Linked DNA regions of Homo sapiens: all the other regions are linked to region 1. The links are contacts of gene promoters, found by promoter capture Hi-C in blood cells and fetal thymus (Javierre and others, 2016). All regions are on one chromosome and are shown on one strand. Each heading gives the region's core, a stretch centred on a gene start or on the middle of the fragment in contact. The rest is flanking DNA. Distances are from core to core; before and after follow the strand shown. Region 1 holds the start of DHX9 (DExH-box helicase 9). Region 2 has its middle 8.3 kb from the start of PRG4. Region 3 overlaps TPR (translocated promoter region, nuclear basket protein).

What was found. The method cuts DNA at HindIII sites, captures the fragments that hold promoters and counts their contacts. A CHiCAGO score of 5 or more calls a contact.
Region 2: a contact is called between a fragment that was not itself captured here and the fragment with the promoter of DHX9 in region 1, in 1 of 17 cell types (total CD4 T cells). The highest score is 5.6, in total CD4 T cells.
Region 3: a fragment that was not itself captured here is called in contact with the fragment with the promoter of DHX9 in region 1 in 10 of 17 cell types (erythroblasts, total CD4 T cells, fetal thymus and 7 more); the score reaches 12.5 in erythroblasts.

What each region holds. Positions count from the first base shown.
Region 1 is chr1:182,837,436-182,841,418 of GRCh38, reverse strand. It overlaps DHX9 (DExH-box helicase 9), which reads right to left and starts at 2,072. Exons shown (of 28, transcript NM_001357.5): 1 at 1,963-2,072. DHX9-AS1 (DHX9 antisense RNA 1) reads left to right here and starts at 1,828. Exons shown (of 2, transcript NR_148933.1): 1 at 1,828-2,107; 2 at 3,485-3,983. RefSeq lists a silencer at 1,753-2,182 and an enhancer at 1,606-2,447. The HindIII fragment of the contact is 6,331 bases long and covers 1-3,983 here.
Region 2 is chr1:186,285,821-186,290,204 of GRCh38, reverse strand. No RefSeq gene overlaps it. Among named protein-coding and RNA genes, the nearest start is that of PRG4, 8.3 kb to the left of the region's middle. The HindIII fragment of the contact is 1,742 bases long and covers 647-2,388 here.
Region 3 is chr1:186,362,113-186,366,624 of GRCh38, reverse strand. TPR (translocated promoter region, nuclear basket protein) reads left to right here. Exons shown (of 51, transcript NM_003292.3): 5 at 3,180-3,283; 6 at 3,624-3,788; 7 at 4,245-4,337. Among named protein-coding and RNA genes, the nearest start is that of TPR, 11 kb to the left of the region's middle. The HindIII fragment of the contact is 1,578 bases long and covers 1,688-3,265 here.

The DNA of each region.
Region 1 (3,983 bases), core at 823-3,322:
AAGGACTATACTATCAAACTCCTGTCTCCCTAGTCTCTTACAACCCCATAATGTTCAATACCAACTACATGCTATCGATGCCCAAATACATATATTTAAACTTTAGTCTTTTCTCTCTTTTTTTTTTTGAGACGGAGTCTCGTTCTGTCGCTCAGGCTGGAGTGCAGGGGCGAGATCTTGGCTCACTGCAACCTCCGCCTCCCAGGTTCAAGCGATTCTCCTGCCTCAGCCTCCCGAGTAGCTGGGACAACAGGCGCCCGCCACCACGCCCAGCTAATTTTTTGTATTTTTAGTAGACACGGGGTTTCACCGTGTTGGCCAGGATGGTCTTGATCTCCTGACCTCTTGATCGGCCCGCCTCAACCTCCCGAAGTGCTGGATTACAGGCGTCAGCCACCGCGCCCGCCCGTCGTTTCTCTTTAAAGTCCAAAATTAAGTTCATCCAACTGTGGCACTAACTCACCCATTTGCATGCTAACTTGGCATCTCAGTCAAAACAGAATTTTAAATTTCCCCTCAAATCTGTTCCAACACCCTACCCCTACATTTCGGTTTCCATAAACGGTACGACATCCACCAAGTTACTCCTGGCACAAGTTGAGAGTCGTCCACTCCCTTAAGATTCTCCATAGCTATCCCTTGTAGAACCCTTAATGTGTGTCAAACAATATCCATAATAGATCATCTAAATGGAACTATTTTACTTAATCCTTAGTAACCTTGTACAGGTAAGATCACTATCCCTTTAGAGAAGGGGAAACTGAGACAAAGAATATCTTGCTTCAGGAAGACAGAGCTCCTAATTATAAGAGCAAGAATTCGGGCGGGCGCGGAGGCTCACGCCTGTAATCCCAGCACTTTGGTAGGCCAAGGCAGGCGGATCACGAGGTCGAGAGATCGAGACCATCCTGGCCAACATGATGAAACCCCGTCTCTACTAAAAATACAAAAATTAGCTGGGCGTGGTGGCGCGCGCCTGTAGTCCCAGCTACTCCGGAGGCTGAGGCAGGAGAATCACTTGAACCCGGGAGACCGACGTTGCTGTGAGCCGCCATCGCGCCACTGCACTCCAGTCTGGCGACAGAGCGAGACTCTTGCAAAAAAAAAAAAAAAAAAAAAGGCGCAAGAATTCCAGAAAACGTAGCCTGACTCCAGATCTACTACCTTCCACCACTACGCATTTCTGCTTCAAAATACGTCCCCTATCCATTCGTTTCTCCCCATCTCTCCTGCCACCACTACTGCACACCCGGGCTAGTGAAATATTGTCCTACACGGTTTTTGTTTCCACTCTTGCCACCCTAAAACCCATTCTCCTTTGAAGGCCTTCTCGCCACACTCCAGTCACATGGCCTGCTTTCAGCTCCCGCCCAGTTTCTGCCCTTAAGCGATAACTAATCCCTTCCGCTTCTGCAGGCTCTGCTTTTCCTTCGCGTTGGCCGAGGTTATCAGCTCAAAGCCTCCCTCCTTCGAGACGCCTTACCTCGCTATACTAGCCAAAGGCGCTCTCCCTTTACATTCTTCAATTTTTTTTCCTCTACCCACAAGGCCTGCACGACGGCGCCAGTTATTCGTGGCTTGAATGAATGAAGAGCCCTAGGCCAGTGGCGCCCCGGCGGCAACCACCACAGGCGAAGCACCCCCTTCCCTCAGCCGCCGCGGTGCCCCGGCGTACGCAGGCCAGAGGAGGAAGCGCGCTTTGCCTGCTAGAGGCAGCAGCGGGAAACGCTGGGCGGAGGAGAGGGGAGGGGGCCACAGGCTGCCCGGACGGCGCAAGCGCATCGCGGCGAGGCGCGCACGCAACCCGCAATCCGGGGACCCGCGGGCGGCTCGTCCCTTCCCCCACCCCCAGCCGCCGCCGCCGCCCGCGCTTCGCAACAAAGCCGGCTGCGGAGCCATGGTCCACGGCGCCCGCCCGCGACCCCGCCGCCCCGCATGGTAGCCGGAACGTCTCTCCCTTACCAGCCTTCGCTTCCTGGTGCCCAGCTCTTAGGACCGTGTGTGACTCTGGCCTTCTACCGAGACAACAGAGAAACGCACAGCAACTCGCATGGAGGAATCGGCGAAATGGCTCCGACCGCGGCGCTAGGGGGCGGGGCCAGCGAGCGTACGCATGCGCAGAGCGCGTGCCAGGGCGGGGGATGGCGAGGGCGCGCCAATGGAGGGGGCGGGGCTCAGCAACCTCGCGGCGCGGAAGGGTTTCGTTGCTAGGGAGATGGGCTGAGCCGGGCGGGCATCGCGCCAGACCTGCTACTCTGGATAATCCACTCTCCTGGATAATCCACTACCCTGGATAATCGGCTGCCCGCTTTTGCGCATGTTAGGGAGTTGACGGCCTGTAGCATTCTGATGCAGCAAAATATTTCGCAGGGTCTGTCATAGGGATCTCCGGTGAGAGGAGGTTCCCTTCGAAGGCAGAACTGGAAACCTTGCTGCTAACTTGGTAGGGTTGTTGAGATAATTACATGAGATGGCATATGAAGGGCGGCTTAGTTCAATACCTGGCATGTAGTAGGTGTTCAGTGGGCGTAGTTACCGGATTGATTCAGATAGTCTGAACGCCAGTGTCTCTTGAAAGAAATAAACTGGCCGGGCGTGGTGACTGTAATCCCAGCACTTTGGGAGGCCGAGGTGGGCGAATCACTTGGGGTCAGGAGTTTGAGACCAGCCTGGCCAGCGTGGTGAAACCCCGTTTCTACTAAAAAAAAAAAAAAAAATACAAAAATTAGCCGGGCATGGGGGCGGGCGCCTGCAATCCCAGCTGCTTGGGTGGCTGGGCGGGCTCCTGCAATCCCAGCTACTCGGGAGGCTGAGGCAGGAGAATCGCTTGAACCCCGGGGTCGGGGGCGGAGGCGGAGGTTGCAGTGGGCCGAGATCACGCCATTTTCTGGGCGAGAGAGCGAGACTCCGTCTCAAAAAAAAAAAAAAAAACCATGAAAGAAATAAGCTCAGTGAAGGCGGGCATTCTGCCTGGCTAACGCAGGTCGCTCCTTGCCGTGCCTGGAACATTACTGTAAGTGCTCAGCAAACTACTTTAAGGTAGGAATAAAATCTGCAAGGTTGCTTTTGTTTAAATTGGATAACCTTTTGTGTTCCAAGTCTTTGGAGTAATTTTGTGTTCCAAGTCTTTGGAATAATTGTGTCCTTAATTATTATACTAGTCACTGTTAAATTTTGAAACTCCAGTGCGTCCCATGAAGGTAATGATACAAAACATTTCCAGCTGGGATTGTTCCAGGGAATCCAGACTAATCAATTATCTGGGCTCATTATATCTATGGATCTTTATTTTTCACCTCTTTCCTTATGTTTTTCTTAATCCTTCTAGCTGATAGTGATCACTCCCTTTAAAACTGTCATTCTTAAAATCAGAACAACATAGTTTATCATTTACTTATTATTTTCTTCATGTGATTGTTCTCCTTAATTAAGAATAAAATCATTGAAGGAAAGACCTTAATTTTTTTTTTTTTGTACCCTTCAGGGTGTTGAAAGCAGCAGGGGCCTAGAAGACATTAAACCGATACCACAGAAATACAAAGGATCATTAGAGACTATTATGAACAACTATATGCCAACAAATTGGAAACCAAATGGAAATGGATAAATTCCTGAACAGATACAACTTACCAAAATTGGACCAAGAAGAAATAGAAAACCTGAAAAGACCAACTATGAGTAATGAGATTAAATCAGTAATATAGAGTCTCCCATCAAAGAAAAGTCCAGGCCCTGATGGCTTCACTGCTGAATTCTACTGAACAGTTAAAGAAGAACTCATACCAGTTCTCAAACTCATCCTGTGAGGGCAGCATTACCCTGATACCAAAACTAGATATGGACACAAGAAAAAAAATCTATAGGCCAGTATCCCTGATGAACATAGATGCAAGAATCCTCAACAAGACCAGGTGTGGTGGTTCATGCCTGTAATCCCAGCACTTTGGGAGGCCAAGGCAGGTGGATCACCTGAGGTCAGGAAT
Region 2 (4,384 bases), core at 268-2,767, 3.4 Mb before region 1:
ATAAGAGGGAAGTATCCCAAGAGACATTGTAGAAGACATTTCATTGAGTCATTCCAAAGCAGGAACACCAGGCTCTTTAAAGATATTGAGTATAATGCAGTATTGGCTGATTGCATAGTATTGCATAATAATCCATTTAAAATCCCTTTCCCCGTGATGGCAGCTAATTTCTATCAAAAGGATTAAGAAGCAGGACATTTGCAACAATTGTCTCCATGGAGCTTATGTTAAGCTTGATACAGAAAACTCAATCAGAAGATTAAAATTCAACATTTCCTCCTTTCTTTTGGTTGATTGCTTATGAAACAAGACTCCAGAGTATCTCTATATCTCTGGTAGCTCAATAAATGTTCTTGAATGAATTAACGAATAAATGTCACTGCTAATATTAGCACTTGCTCTGCCTGTCCCTTGGACTGGGGAAAAGGGCTTTGGTATTGACAAGCACTTGGGTTCATTGTATGTGTAACTTAGACCTCAAGATTCTTGAGGGGATGGAGAGCAGACACAGCATAAACGGCTACCTATTTATCCTTTTATTTGTATTCTGCTGTTTGTGCAAAGAAAATATTTATGGGAGGGGCACTGATAGAGACCAGACCCTTTGTTCCTCCAAGTCCTCCTCAGAGTAATATAGTAGAAAGCTTTGTTCTTTACAGAGGCAAACTCAGAGTCACAGCTATGCCTTGAGGAGTCCTATACCAGGCTTTGGACAACACCTCCACAAACCATCAACATTTATTAAGTATCAGCTAGGTGCCAGACATTTATTCTGATTAAAGCAAAACAAACATAAACAAAATAAAAATAAGGATAAATTCCTTTTTTTCATGCAGCTTGTATTGTATTTTACCTTTAAAATAAATTCTTAGGAGTGGGAACATCTTCATAATTCTTGATAAATATCAACAAATTATCTTGCAGTTTAGATTGTAAATTCATCAAAGGCAAGGATATGTTGTATCCCCAGCACTTAGTAGAGGACTTGGCACATAAGTGTTTGATAATATATCAGATTGAATTTAATGAAACTGTAGGATTGCCATTAAAAATTCTTTTTCTCCTAAAAATGAATTTGGTGCTTAGAGACACATACTGCTTCTTCTTTGGGACAGCATGCATTAATAGGCACGAGACTGAACTGATGGATGTGGCCTGTGTAGGCTGAAAAACCCAGCAAGGTAAGAAACAGTGCTGGGAAACAAATGACTTCTCAGAACTGAGAAAAGTTATGATCAGCCCGCCAAAGCACTGAAAACAGGAACTGCTCTTTACTTTGATCGTTTTTTCTGTTTTTTTTTTTTTTTTTCGAGACAGAGTCTCGCTCTGTCTCCCAGGCTGGAGAGCAGTGGCGCCATCTCGGCTCACTGCAAGCTCCGCCTCCCGGGTTCAAGCCATTCTCCTGCCTCAGCCTCCCGAGTAGCTGGGACTACAGGCGCCCGCCACCACGCCCGGCTAATTTTTTGTATTTTTAGTAGAGACAGGGTTTCACCGTGTTATCCGGGATGGTCAGGAGACCTCGTGATTCGCCCGTCTAGGCCTCCCAAAGTGCTGGGATCACAGGCGTGGGTTCACCGCACCTGGCCCTCTAGTTTGTTTTTTTAATCTTAAAGCACATTGCTATAGATATGAATGCTAGCAGAAGAACACAGGAGGTCAAAGTTTAGGAGAGTAGCCAAAAACTAATTTTTTTCCCAACACCCTTTATCTCTTCCATGCTTCTTGCAGAAGAGGAATGTGGAGGCCTTAAGGAGAAGATAAATGAAAGGCCAAAAAAAATAAGTCGTGATGTAAATAGATGACACAGCTTGCACATAACCAACTATCTTATACCTGGTAGAGGCAGGCAGGAATGTCAGAAAGGAAAAAAGTAGAGTAATTTATATTGATGTAAGACTATAATTGGGATTGTCTAAGGTGTTTTGGAAATCAATTGAACTACTTTGTGGTTCTGCTTTTGGATCTAAAAAATTAGTTTAACACAGGAAAGTAAAGAAACTATGTATTACGCAATGTAATGATCTAGATAAAATGTTATTTTTTTGAAAGCAACAATTCATTTTGCCCTCATCTTGCCTTTCAAGAGAAAGACTGATTTTAGTGAAACAAGATTTTAATAATTTCTCAGTTAAGTAGAAGGTGGCCAGCACCCAGAGATTCTGCACAATAAAGAAAGGTAGCAGGAAGCAGAGGGAGGGAGTGGTGGGCTGGAAGGAAAGGAGAGAGAGGGAGGAAGGGATCTTGGATAGAATGATGGTAAGCCTGAAGAGGGAACTTAGGTAAACAGCAATGGAGATTTATTAAGATATGTGCTGTGTGGTGTGAAATATAACTCCTTTCCCTGTTCTTTACACAATCTTTAGTAAATCCTATAAATTTACAAAAGCTTTTGATTTCAATGGCTTTGTTATGGTGGTTATAGAAATTAAAAAGAAGATTCTTTTTGCTATATGCATATTGGGTCATGATTGACACTGGGCAAAACTAGAAACTACATATGGGTGACTCTAATCCTTTATCGCTAAGGATACTAAATAATGACATTACATCTTATGTGTAAAATATAGAAACAGGAATATTGTCAGAGCTGCTTTCAGAGGCTGACAGTCACAAGGAGGGTATGGGCTGAAAGTATAAGTGTCCCTAATAAATTAAGGAATAACCGGAGGTAATCAAAATGTTTGACAGTTGACAGAACATCTCTGACTGGGAAACTGACACGGAGGCCTATGGGGCAGATCCCTGCCATCTCTCCAGGGCCTCTGTCAGGTGCAATCTGTCTGGGCTGATTCTTGGTCTGTCCCATGAGGCAATTCTAGAATGCTGGGTTGAGGTATCTAAGGACAGGAGAGATAGCATTTGGTTTTTTGCTTATATTTTGCTTTGTCATTGAATAAAGCAATATTTAGGCATAATATAAAGAAAACAATTCTAACAGCAAGTGAAAGTTTTAAAATATAGGAAAGCTGTTTACAAGGGGAAAAAAGATGAAGATGGCTATTTGTTGTTCATGGATTATAGCCAGTTCTTCCTTCCTTGATGGTGATTCTTATAAGTGATGCGCTGTTATAAACTGGAATAACATCTAATGGCCGGAGTGACTCACTGATGGGAAATTAGTCAACAAAGCACAACAACTTTTAAGTAAAAGGTCAATTTCTATCTTCTGACTTGAGCCACTCTCCCTCTCCCTTTGCTCCTAGAATTTCACCTGGACATCTCTTTTCTGCTTTATTGCATCAAGGAAAGTTAGGCTCAACACTGATTTTTTCAAGCCTCTTACAGGAAGCAAACCTATGAATCAAAGACTAATCGAGTGACCTAATGGCTAGTCCAGGCTTCCTGCCACTGGCAACCCACCAACCCATTCCCTCCTTCGGAAGATTTCTTTATAGAAGTTGTGAGTGCTAATTATTTGCAGCTGTTGCTGACCGTGCTGTAACAACCTGATGGGCTCGCCCTAGGAGTCTGGCGGACTGACCAACCTATGTGAGGTTATTGACCAAATCCTACTAAAACCAAAGACAGTGGGAGTATGGAAATTATATGGGGGAACCCTAAGGAGAATCTCAGAAAAATACCTGTAGAAATGTATATTTTGCCTAAAAGCAGCCAATTCCAGAACTCTTAGCTTTAGAAGGAAAGTACCAACAAGGAATTGTAGAACAGAAGAAAAAGGAAAGATCGGTGAGGGAGGATTAAGGAAGGAAAGAAGGAATCAGCACTCGGAGACTTGGATCTAGGAAGGCAATTCCTCCCCAGGGTGGCAGGTTGGAGTAAAGGGGACAATCCCGCCCCTTTTATAGTCCAGGATTAACAGTCATGAATGGAAATGTTAAATCTGGTAGTTACCTTGGGATAGAAATGGGACCAAAGGGTACAGGACAAGGAAGTGAGCACACACCAAGGCCTGACCAGGTGGCGCGCCATCTACAAGACGTTCAATCCGACACCCTGCAAGGGCCACCCTTCCAGCTTAGGAGGAACAGCTGGCTAATCACGTCAGTTCTAAAACTTCTGCCCCAGCTCAGGACTGGGGCTATTTTTTCTCATATGTAATCTGAATTTTTTAATACTTTTCCTTTTCTTTTTTAGATATTAAAAAAATTATCTGATTAAGGATGAGAAAAATATATTTAAAAAAACAGCATGGAAACTCATAACTGCAATTGCATCAACCTTTATCATAGCTTCAACCTTTATCATGAAGCCTAAGCTAGGCTTCACATCTTGATTTTAAACTCTGGGAAAGGGAGCCATGCCTTGCTTTGGACCAATTCAACATTAAGCAGAGATTTAGTAGATGTGAGTAGTTTCTTGACTACTAGACTATTACTTATATCATCATAAAATAGGGCACAGGAATATAAAGTTTGGAGGCAAA
Region 3 (4,512 bases), core at 1,227-3,726, 3.5 Mb before region 1:
ATTGAATTTGTAATTAACTATGGCAGAAACAAGTTAAAATAAGAGAGTTGAGAACTACAGTTGACCCTTAAACAACACAGTGGTTAGGGTTGCTGATTCCCCCCACAGTTGAAAATTTATGTGTAACTTTTGACTCCCCAAAAACTTAACTACTGCTGTTAACTAGAAGCCCTACCAATAACATACACAGTAGATTGTCATACGTTTTGTCTGTGATCTGTATTATATACTGTGCTCCTTCAATAAAGTAAGCTAGAGAAAAAAATGTTAAGAAAATCATAAGGAAGAGAAAATACGTTTACTGTACATTAAATGGAAGTGGATCATCACAACCATCTTCATCCTCCTTGTCTTTACATTACCTAGGCTGAAGAAAAGGGGTTGGTCTTGCTGGGTCAGGTTGCAGAGGTAGAAGGGGAGGCAGAAGAGGGAGGCACACTCAATGTAACTTTACGAAATACAGCCTAATTTCTGTCTGACTTGCTTTTTCATTTCTCTAAAAATGTTTCTATACATTACCAATCTTCCTTCCACCGTTTGCTATAGTTTCAGTGCCCATGTAAGAGAAGGATCCATGTCATAAAAGAAATCAAAAGCAGTCTTGGGTAATCAGAACCCTTCCACCAGATAGTCTGTTACCAATATGTTTTCTGACACTGCTAGTTCTACATTCTTTTTCCACATCGTCTGGCACTGGTTTGGAAGCACTCATCTCCATCCAGTCATCTTCTGTTAATTTATCTGATATGGTGGCTATTAGCTCTTGGATTTCTCCAAGGTCCGTATCTTGAAACCCTTCATCCCACTTTTTTTGCCATATCCACAATCTCTTTCATGATTTCTTTGATTGGCTCTGTTACAAATTTTGTGACATCATGCACAACATCTGGAGAGTTTCCTCCAACAGGAATTTATTATTTCAGCCTTGATGGCTTTCATAACTTTTTCTGTAATGAAAAAGAAGGGATGGCCTCTTCAGTGTGTTATCCTTTAAAACTTTCATGATATTTTCTCTGTTGGGGTTCTCTTCCACAGTGTTGACATTTTCTTTTCACAAAGTATCATCTCTATTGAGCCGTAAAGGTCCTTATGACTCCTGATCTAAAGGCTGAATTAGAAACATGTTTGGGAGCAAGTAGACTGCTTTGACACCTTCCATGTTGAACTCCTGGGTTCTGGGTGGCCAGGGACAGTGTCTAAAGTCAAAAGAACTTTAAAGGCAGCCCCTTGGCCAGGTACGGTGGCTCATGCCTATAATCCCAGCACTTTGGGAGGCCGAGGCAGGTAGATCACCTGAGGTCAGGAGTTCGAGACTAGCCTGGTCAACATGGCAGAACCCCATCTCTACTAAAAATACAAAAATTAGCTGGGCGTGGTGGTAGGCGCCTGTAATCCCAGCTACTCAGGAGGCTGAGTCATGAGAATCACATGAACCAGGGAGGCAGAGGTTGCAGTGAGCCAAGATAATGCCACTACACTCCAGCTAGGGGGATAGAGCGAGACTGTCTCCAAAAAAAAAAAAGGGCAGCCCCTTTACTAGCAAGGTACTTTCTGACTTTAGGGACAAAGCATGAGTGGAACCAATTCAGAGAAGGGGGTCTGTCATTGTCCAGGTCTTCTTCTTGTGTAACCAGAAGACAGGCAGCTGGTGTTTATCTTTTTCCTTTGGGCCCTGGGGTTAAAAGCTTTATAAATAAGGGCAGTCCTTATCATAAACCTGACTGCATTTGCTCAGTACGGTAGAGTTAGCCTATCCCTTCCTGCCCTAATCCTGGTGCTCCCTTCTCTTTCTTACTAATAAATATCTTTTGTGGCATTGTTTTTTCCAGAATAGTACACTTCTATCTGCATTAAAAACCTGGTGCAGGCATATAACCTTTCTCAATGATTTTCTTAGCAGCATCTGCTGTTTCTTGGTTGACAGAACCTGCTTCTTCAGTTTTGTTGACATTTTTATAAGTCAAACCTTTCTAAAATTATCAAACCATCCTTTACTGGCATTAAATTCTCCAGCTTTAGATCTGTCACCTTCCTTTTGCTTTTAGTTGTCATATAATAACTTTGCTTTACCTCGTATCATATTAGAGTCTATAGGTATGTGATAGCAATCCTGCACCCCATAAAAGCTGCATTTTCAATGCGAGATAGGAAGGTATTTTGCAGAAATGCACTTTTTTATGCTTGCTGGCGTAGCTGCAGTGATGGCTTTACGAATTTTCTTTTTATTTCTTTTTTTTTTTTTAAACAACGGTCCATATACTGGATTCATTTGTCTTGAAATGGTGGGTAACCATCGCTGCAGTCCTCAATCTGTGGTACATATCAAGCAATTCAACTCTTTAAAATATTGTCGTGATATTTCCCTGCTTCTTAGAAGAAGTACTTCCAACATCACTAGTGGCAGTTCTTATGGATCCCATGTTGTTATTCAAGGTTTATGGTATTGTACTAAACACAATGACAAATATGCAAAAACTTCAAAAGATTTCAAGTTTTATGGTATTGCACTAAACACAATGACAAATATGCAAAAACTTCAAAAGATTACTATTTTCTGCATTATGCAATTTACTGAAGAGAGAAACTGCTCACAATAGAGTCACACAGCATTCTATACAGACACTCAAAACACTTGAGCTTACTGCAGTAGTATCAGGAGGTGGCTATGAAAGTATTCCAGTAATACAGTATGTATTACAGTTAATTTTATGCAGTTATGGTTTAATAAAGCATATTTATATTTGCTTATATTTCTCTTGATTGCAGATAGGGTTGTGTAGTGTTTGTGTGCATAAGTTTTGATAAATTTTTTAAGTTTGTATCATGGATTTGTGCATATTTTAATGGTAGTAAATGATAAAATACACTAATATCTACATATTAGTACATATTATGCACTTACAGTAGCTTTTTCTTAGTTTGTTCCCATTTCTGGGCTGCCTGGATTGGTCTGTGGTCTCTGAGTTTTTCAAATTGTAAGTTTTTGGGAAAAAATTCCAATATATTTATTGAAGAAAATATGAGTGGAAGTGAATCTGCATGGTTCCAATCTGTGTTATTCAAGGGCCAGCTGTGCATACTTTGTATTAAAGGTTTATATTCCTAGAAATATATTTTTGATATTTGGTTCCCCTGAGTGTTAATTAGTTATTATTTTTTAATTCTCTTCACCATTCTAGAGGATGTTAAACGTCTGAATGAAAAACTTAAAGAAAGCAATACAACAAAGGGTGAACTTCAGTTAAAATTGGATGAACTTCAAGCTTCTGATGTTTCTGTTAAGGCAAGTACCAGATGATTCCTAATGCATAAACTATAGCTTTTTATTAAAACTCACCTAAATTAAATTTCAAATATAGGCAATAAAGTAATTAAAAGCTGCATTTTGTTTTGTTTTTAATGTCAGAAAATTAAGCATTAGGACAATTCTAGTTCATCTGTTTTGCTTGTTTGAAATTTAAGTTTGTTACAGTTCTTAATGTTTTCTAGTTAAGAATCTATGCAAATACTTAATTTCTGTTTTGAAATAAAATTCTGCTTGTGTCCCTTAGCTACAGACAAAATCTTTTGAATAATCATATATCATCTTTAACTGTACGTGTTATTTTCTTGGATTTCTTTAGTATCGAGAAAAACGCTTGGAGCAAGAAAAGGAATTGCTACATAGTCAGAATACATGGCTGAATACAGAGTTGAAAACCAAAACTGATGAACTTCTGGCTCTTGGAAGAGAAAAAGGGAATGAGATTCTAGAGCTTAAATGTAATCTTGAAAATAAAAAAGAAGAGGTAAGTTAGTAAAATTGTGTTTTTCTTCATGTTGAGTATAACTTACATTTGTATGTCAGTTTATTAAATATGTATTCAGTAGTGTGTACCTGATTAGTTGTAAGATGAGTGGTTAAATGTGAATAATGCATTACATTTGGCGTAAAAAATCAACCAATTGCGTTTACATAAAGAATTTAAGATTCTTTGTCAAATCTGGTTAGTATCTACTGTCTTACGATATATCTTTCCTAAAATATGTGTTTGTTTAAGAAGTGGTGGTAAGTTTTTGTGAGCTAAATCTAAACATTGTTCTGTGAGCAGTTACTCTTAGTTTTCTTAAATATGCATATTTTAATTGCTTTTTCAGGTGGGGAGGGGGAGTTACTTAGCTTTTCCTTAGCAGCATAAACCTCATGTCAGAGTAATTTCAGTTAATATGACATCCTTTCCCCCTGCTCTATTTTTTGTTTTTAGGTTTCTAGACTGGAAGAACAAATGAATGGCTTAAAAACATCAAATGAACATCTTCAAAAGCATGTGGAGGATCTGTTGACCAAATTAAAAGAGGTATATATGACCATTAAAATGTCTTTTTTACAAAATACTAAAGCACTTACGAAGCTGTTATTTCACAAAATGATGTCATTTTTTAATCTGTCCTTGGCCCCATAAAACAGTGAGAGTCCTCCTTCCATATGCTGTAGCTAGGCTAAAATAGAATCAGAAATAGCAATTATATGTT